Linked DNA regions of Homo sapiens: region 1 is linked to region 2. The links are contacts of gene promoters, found by promoter capture Hi-C in blood cells and fetal thymus (Javierre and others, 2016). All regions are on one chromosome and are shown on one strand. The core of a region is centred on a gene start or on the middle of the fragment in contact, and the rest is flanking DNA. Distances in the headings are between cores, read along the strand shown.

Region 1 (3,947 bases), core at 1,373-3,872, 190 kb before region 2:
TGGAAAGGAAAGCCAAAGCCACATACCTATTGCTTTTTCTTTCTTCTGCAAGATTTCTTGTATAATCGGAGGTCTGGTAAACTGGGTTTGTGTTGGGCCTCGTAGAAATCGTGCTAATAGGGAATCTGAAGAAATCAGGACCAATATAAGGCCTGGGATCCTCTCCCTACACCGGAGCAAATGATAATGTGTAATGAAGCTATGGACGCAGGTGAATTTCACATTCTTTCATTTAAACAAAACAAAACAAAAAAGGTGGGTATTGGCCGCCTTTAGCTCAGTGAAAGCATCACCTAGTACAGGTGTCCTCATTTGCTTGACCATAAAATCACCTGAGGCACTTATTAAAAAATAAAGATTCCTAAGCCTTGCATTTTATGGTTCTGATTTCACCCCAGGTGACCTACTACAATTGAAAAATGCCATGTATTTATATAAGGGAAAAACAGATTGATCTAACAAAGCGAAAGCAGTGTTTTTGTTAAGTTCCCTGGGTTTTGTAGCAGTAGGTGTTTTAGTGGCAATATTTTTACCAACCAGGCCTGAAGCAGTGAACTCAAAAATCTCAATTTTTTAATTAAATGGCCTCCCCAACACCCTCAACCTCCCACCCCACTCCTTTTTAGTGGGAGGGGCTGTCTTTTAGTGAAGGATTCTTGCTTTTCTTTTCCATATTTCATGAGTCTACAGAACTCACAGACTGGATGCCTTTTATTTTAAAAACTTTACTGAATCCATCAGCTTTCAGAAGAGACAATTTCTTTCCAAACCATTCTGAAGATATAAAATTACACCTTAATGAAAATGACTGTGACCTCACAAGGAGGTTGTCAAGTCACCCACGTTTCCTTACAACTCCAAGAAGGATTAACAGAAATAAACCCAAATGCTTTGAATGCTTACAACTTTACTGGTGAATTAATTATATGTCATTCAGGGACATTCAAAGCAACATAAACTATGTAAACCACTTTCCTAACCGGTCAAAACACACATTTTAAATACATGCTGGTCGCGGGAGATGAAAACTGAGAAAGTTTCATGACTGTGACCTCAACTAACATCTGTAAACTACATCTTTTTCCTCCCTAGAGAATGAAAGCTGATCTATTTACTCCTGGCAGAGAAGAAAGGAGGAAGGACGTCCAGGTGCTACCAGAAAACCATTTGTGAGGACATGGACCAGTGCCAAGGTCACAGCCCACCTGAATAGAACTTGAAATCCAGGCACACCCAGTCCAGGGGAGCCCTGAGTTCTTCCTGAACTTAAACACTGGGTTTAAAAAAAAAAAAACAGTCACAGGTGCGGGGACACTGGTCCCCTGCCTGCTGCGAAGTAGATAACGCGAGGACAGCCTCAAAACAACTCCAGACGCTTCGGGTGCCTGAGCCTCACTCGGTGGGGGCGGCGCAGAGGTCCACGTGCAGTACGCGAGCTGGGGAGGTGCGGGAGCCCGCGCTCTGCCCGTGCGCCGCCGACCCACTCACTGCCGCTCGGGGCTTTGGGTTCCCCCCATGCAAAAGGAGGACCATGCTATGTCATCAAGGGCTGATGCGAAGAAGAACCCAGAAGCAGGCGTCAATAAGTAACGAAAGAATGGGGGTAGCCGTGCCTAATATCGTTGCTGCCGTGGCAATTACTGCAACGGAGGCTTGAGAGTTAGGGCGCCAGAAACGCAAACTTTCCAGGGGACCAAACTCATCCAAGCCTCCTAAGGGGCCTGTGGAGACCTCTGCCCGCTCTGGGCCCCGCCGCCGTCCGCGGTCCGCGCCACCTTTCCCGCGGCTGGCTCCAGGCGGGGCGGGGCAGCGGCGGCGCGGGCCGGGCGGCGGGGAAGGGAGGGAGCGCGGTTGCACACGCGGGCCACTGCCCCCAACGGCTGCGCTGGGCTCGCGGCGCCGTACCCCGAACGCCGCAGCCTCCGCCTCCGCCGCCGCCGCCACCGCCACCGCCACCGCCGTCGCCGTCGTCGCGGCTGCCGGGGCCGCCGAGCCCCGCCGCACTCGCTCCGGGCGGGCTCACCCTCCTCGCGGGACAGGGGGGCGCAGCGCGCAGTCCCGGGGAGCCCTCCTCGCCTCGCCGCCGCGCTGGGCCCGGGCCCCCCCTCGCGGCCCCAGCAGGTGGAGGCGCCCCGCGCCCCGCTCCGCAGCCCCCTCCCGCTGCGCGCCAGCCCGCGCGGGCGCAACTTTCTTAAAGGGACAGGTGGACCGAATCCGCGTCCACCTGGGGCCCCGTCTCTGCCTCCCGGCCCGTCCTCCACTTTGGGGGAGAGAGGGGGTTGCAACAGATCTCTCCGCCCGCCCACGTCCTTTGCCCCAGGCGGGATTGCAAGTTTTAATGCACCCAGCCTCCTTTTGCAACTTAATTCCCTTGGCCGAAATCACCCTCCCACTGCTCCTCAACGCATGCTCTCGGGCATGCAGTTGTTGTCACTGTTGGCAAAGTTTGAAGAGGGGTCCCTACCCCTGCACTCCTCCGCCCCGCCCCCCTCACACACACCCCCCCCCCAGAACCCCGGGGCGTGCAAGGCTCGCGGCTGCTGGGAAACGCCCGCTGCAATCCCCTTGACCCTGCCCTGTAACTGACCCTTGGGGAAAAGCCCCCCGCACGGCTACTGCGCATGCTCTGAGCTGGACAGCTCCAGAGAGGGAAATTTAAAAACGGTTCGAGCTGCGACGGCGGCCAAATTGCGGAACGCGAGGGGCGAGCGCGAGGGAGCCCCCCTCCGGAACCCCTGCCCACCCCCGGAGCGCCGGCAGCGGCGGCCCCGCGAGGATCGGCTCCAGGTACCGCCTTGCAGGGTCGGCTTTGCTCCCTCCTCCCGGGCAATGCCGGGCATTGCATTTCCAGGGTAGAGACCCGGGCGCAGGGGCTGCGGGGCCGCCTCCCTCTGCTCCCTTTTCCTCCTTCCTGGGAATCCTTCGATGGCTTTGGGGGCGGAACTGAGGCTTTGGTGGGCTTTTATGTTGGTTCAGGCTTGGAGTTTGAGAAACTTAGGGAACTCAAATATTTTTATTATTTTTTTAAGGCAGTGTTTGTGTGTTGCGGGGACGTGGGTGGTTGGATTGGTTTTCCAGTAAGGGCTTGTGGCATTTCTGAAGGCATTTCAGGGCAGGAGCTTGCGGGGATTATTCCCTTTGCAAGTGGGAATTTGTTCCCCCAGAGAAATACACATGTCACATCCAGCTGCCCCTTATTTTGAAAGTGATCATAACCAAACTGAGGTTGAAAATATAAGGCTTGGAAGGAAATCGTTTTTCTGATTCCTATTTTGTGAGTCCACATTTTCCAGGTTTGACATTTGGATTCTAGAGCTTCCCTTGCTCTTCCCCCATTAATTCGAAAGAACCGGGAATTTCATTTCATTCTCTTCATTTGTTTCTAAAACGCTGTAGAATTGCCCTGGGAAAGTGACCTGAGATGCCCAGGAATCCTCTAGAACTTTTTTCTTTAAAGAAAAAAAAAGTGTTCTGTGAGTTGATTGTGCTCCATCTTTCTGAATTGCGGGAAAACTGTGGGTTTCTGCCCTGTCCATATCGTCGCTGATGGGAGCTTTGTTTTCTGCTTGTCTTTTCCCAAGGAGATGATAGAAAGTGACACCTCATCCATAATGTCAGGAATTATTCGAAACTCAGGGCAAAATCACCACCCCTCTCCACAGGAATACAGGTGAGGGCTCCAACAATAACAAACTATATATTTTTTAATTGCTCAAAGTGTTTGTATGCTGTTTATGGTTTCTGAAACTGCCCAAGAACTATTGTTATGTTCAATTCTGTGATTTTTGCGGGAGAGCTGGAAAGTCTTGATTTCAATGTTGGTCTTGCTAAGGGTGTCTGGGCCACAACCTGGCCCAGTGGGACCACGAAATGCCTGCTGTCTCTTGTCCCCTCCAAAAGAGGTCCGTTTCTGCATTTGATACTGTTTGGGCATCCTGGTGAATGTT
Region 2 (3,804 bases), core at 767-3,266:
ATCTCTACTAAAAATACAAAAATTAGCTGGGCGTGGTAGTGCTTGCCTGCAATCCCAGCTACTCGGGAGACTGAGACTGAGGAATTGCTTGAACCTGGGAGGCAGGGGTTGCAGTGAGCTGAGATTGTGCCATCGCACTCCAGCCTGGGTGACAGGACGAGACTCTGTCTCAAAAAAAAAAAAAAAAAAAGAACAAGGTCAAAGTTTCTACTGGGATAAGACTTCAAGGAAACCTCCATTTCAAAAGATTAAAATGTTTATTTCCCCATGAAGACTGGGTATCTCATGTAATGTAATACTCAAATTTCTGTCTCAGACCTAAAGGTGTTGAAAGTATGAGCGAGTTTACACAACACCTGAGCAGGAGCAAATAAAACTCTTAAGAGCTTCTGAAAGAAAGTTACAGATTAGAGATATTTTCATCTCTAAATCACATGAATTAGGATTGGCTGGGTCTTTCCACTTAAAACTTGGAGAAGTCATAAAAAGAAATCTTGTAAAGAACTCCATGTCACTATTAGCAGAAACATGCAATTTATAAAATGATATCTTTGGCCAGGCGCGGTGGCTCATGCCTGTAATCCCAGCACTCTGGGAGGCCGAGGCGGGCGGATCACTTGAGGTCAGGAGATCGAGACCATCCTGGCTAACACAGTGAAACCCTGTCTCTACTAAAAATACAAAAAAAATTAGCCGGGCGTGGTAGTGGGTGCCTGTAGTCCCAGCTACTTGGGAGGCTGAGGCAGGAGAATGGCGTGAACCCAGGAGGCGGAGCTTGCAGTGAGCACTCCATCTCAAATAATAATGATAATAATAATATCTTCACCTTTCAGTTTTTAAATTGCAAGTCCCATGTCCCGGGAATTCCCCGGTCCTGGGCAAAGTGGGATGGTTGGTCACCCAACCTATATGGATGCCCATTGATATTAAAAAATAAAAGTAATCACAATAGACATGAGGGAGAGAGTTGTGTACAGTGTGAGTGTACAGAATAAAAGGTCTGGGGGGTTTATACCAAAATGTGCACAGTGGCTACCTGGAGGAGGAGGGTTAGACAGGAATAACAGCAAGGAGACTTTTGCACGGTGCTGAGTGACTTTTTAACTTGCATATTATTTTGGAATGCATTTTTTCAACATTGAAAGAAAGTCATGTCTTCCTAGAAATATAGGATATAGGACCACTACAAACGCTTTACTCTTAGTCTCCTTTTTTTCTTTTTCTTTTCTTTTTTTTTTTTTTTGAGACAGAGTCTTGCTCTGTCAGTCAGGCTGGAATGCAGTGGCGCAATTTTAGCTCACTGCAACCCCCACCTCCTGGGTTCAAGCGATTCTCCTGCCTCAGCCTCCCAAGTAGCTGGGATTACAGGTGCCCATCACCACATCTGGCTAATTTTTATGTGTTTAGTACAGATGGGGTTTCGCCATGTTGGCCAGGCTGGTCTCGAACTCCTGACCTCAAGTGATCCACCTGCCTCTGCCTCCCAAGGTGCTGGGTGGCATGAGCCACCGTGCCCAGCCTTAGTCTGCTTTAAAAAAAAAAAAAAAAAAAAAAAGAACAACCATTTGAGGAAACAGAAACAGAATACTATTCCTTAAGACAGTAGCTTTGGAGGCAAAAAACAGAATTGTTTATAAAACGTTGTGGAACTTATATGGGAGCATGTCCAGGGATCCACACCACCATTTATAGAAGCAAAGAAAGGCCCTTCTCTTTCATCTGCGTTACATTTCGAGCTCTTCTGATTAGCTTCCTTCAAACATGACGGGAGTCGTTTTTCCCCGGGGACCCCAAGTGCATGCCTTCAGACAGGGTCTGCTCTCACTATACATTGGGTTCGAATTTACCTGGACGTTGGCAGAATGGTCCGGACCCCGGGGAGGGGCGAGCTGACTTACCACTTTATTCCTGCCGCTTTTCTCTTGCCATGTCCTCCCCACCGTGCATTCAGGGTTACATTTTCCAGGTTCCTTGTTTGCTGAGGGCCTGAATCTAAGCCTGCTAGCTGCTTACTCTGGGGACTGCAAATGTCACTTTTAGATTAATCAGCCCCTGCTGTTTAAAAATATCCCTGGAGCACTTAACCTTCAAAGCAGCAACAACCCGGGGCAAAGATGAGAAAGATCCCACGTCAAACCACTTGTGCAGCCCTGGCTACTCCTGGGAGAGTTCTGCTATCTGCCTTTTAATCCCATAACTCGCTTTATTTCATAATTCTTAGCTGTTGAAGCCATGAGGCATCTAAAGTCCATGTTGTCGTAAGCAGTAGGCAGAAAGTCATCTGGGCCCTCCTGTGACATGCTGAAAATTAACTGCCTACAGGTGTTGGTCATTTGAGAAACAAGCCCCCATTGAAAACCGTGAATGGGAAGGTGATCGCTATCAGGTCACCTGGCTTCTCTCCCCTGAAAAGATTTGGCGAAACCCTCTCAAATCACGCCACTTAATGGAATGTTTCCAATTTCTTGTGACTTGGGGATAAAAGAAAAAAACAGCTCCATTGCCACATTCTCATTCAGGGTTGACTGGCTCTTGCTAGGGTTGAGCACAGAAGAGGAAATTCAGCACACGCTGCAGTTACATAGTGTTCTGCAACGTGGGGAGGGCTGGCATGTGGGACAAAGGTCGCCTCCAAGGCCCAGCTGGAGAAGCCCAGCCAACTAGGCAGCAGGAAAGTGGAGACCACATAGGAGCACATTGTGCTCAGGCAACAGGGAAGGTGGAACCCACTTCCTGCCAACAATGATGGCCTTACTAAACAGCAAGTGGAGAAACTGGCGAGAGCGCTGAGCACGGGATCTGTGCAAAATGGTTTAAATGGAAATTGCTGCTGGGGCTGGTGCAGCCTGTTCACAGCTACTTTGTTTCTGGGCTTATTTTGCAATAAGGAACAGTCATTGAATATTGGACTTCTTGGGATTTTCTCCACTGGACTTGGAAGCATGTGCTCTGGAAACCTCAGCATTATCAGCTGTAACCCCACAGCACCAGGTACATGTTACAGGAACCGGGGTGAAGGAATGCAGGTCAAATGCCTGCACAATGCCCGGCCCGAGTCATATGTTCTCTAGCCACAGTAGCCCTTGTGATGGCTCTTAGTCTATTTATTAAGACAATAAAAGAGGTGACTCTCAAACAAACCTATGTTTCCAGGGAGAGCCATCTGTGATTCAAGGACATTTTTATAAAATTCCATTGAAAAAAATTCTTAGGCTTCTAACTTCATGAAAAAAAAATTCTTTCCCAGTGATTCCAAATAATCATGATCTAGGCAGGGTGTTGACAGTGGCAGGACTATTAGGCTTTGAAATCAAGCTGATGTGGGTTTGAATCCTCCCTCCATTAGCCATGACTTTGAGCAAATGGCTGAGCTTCAGTGTCCTCATCAACTACTTCACCATATGGGTGAGAAAATGAAATGATTTATATTGAGTTTCTGGCACAGGGGCTTGCTCATGACAAGCACTTAATATCTTTCTAATGAAATTCATTACTTGCAAAAAGACTAGACATACCCACACATACAGGTGAAGAACTCTGCAGTGATTCAGTTCTCCCTAGACACTATCTCTTTAAGACACAGGTATTTTCCAGAATATAATTGGAAGGCTTGAAACCAAAGTTATTCATAAACTCTTTCCATCAAACACAAGAACGGTAATAGAAATATATTTCTTCAAACAGCTGTTAGTTTCAGAAAGTCACAGGTATCAAGTTACATTTTTTGTTTTGTTTTGTTTTGTTTTAGAAATAGGATCTTGCTCTGTTGCCCAGGCTGGATGGAGTGCAGTGGCATGATCATAG

Evidence for each region. The method cuts DNA at HindIII sites, captures the fragments that hold promoters and counts their contacts. A CHiCAGO score of 5 or more calls a contact.
Region 1: the fragment with the promoter of FOXN4 here is called in contact with the fragment with the promoter of ACACB in region 2 in 13 of 17 cell types (endothelial precursors, megakaryocytes, M1 macrophages and 10 more); the score reaches 11.0 in endothelial precursors.

What each region holds. Positions count from the first base shown.
Region 1 is chr12:109,307,959-109,311,905 of GRCh38, reverse strand. FOXN4 (forkhead box N4) reads left to right here and starts at 2,622. Exons shown (of 10, transcript NM_213596.3): 1 at 2,622-2,787; 2 at 3,582-3,670. The coding sequence starts at 3,585. It also overlaps a transcript of MYO1H not described here. The HindIII fragment of the contact is 5,817 bases long and covers 1-3,947 here.
Region 2 is chr12:109,114,799-109,118,602 of GRCh38, reverse strand. ACACB (acetyl-CoA carboxylase beta) reads right to left here and starts at 2,016. Exons shown (of 53, transcript NM_001093.4): 1 at 1,899-2,016. The HindIII fragment of the contact is 11,769 bases long and covers 1-3,804 here.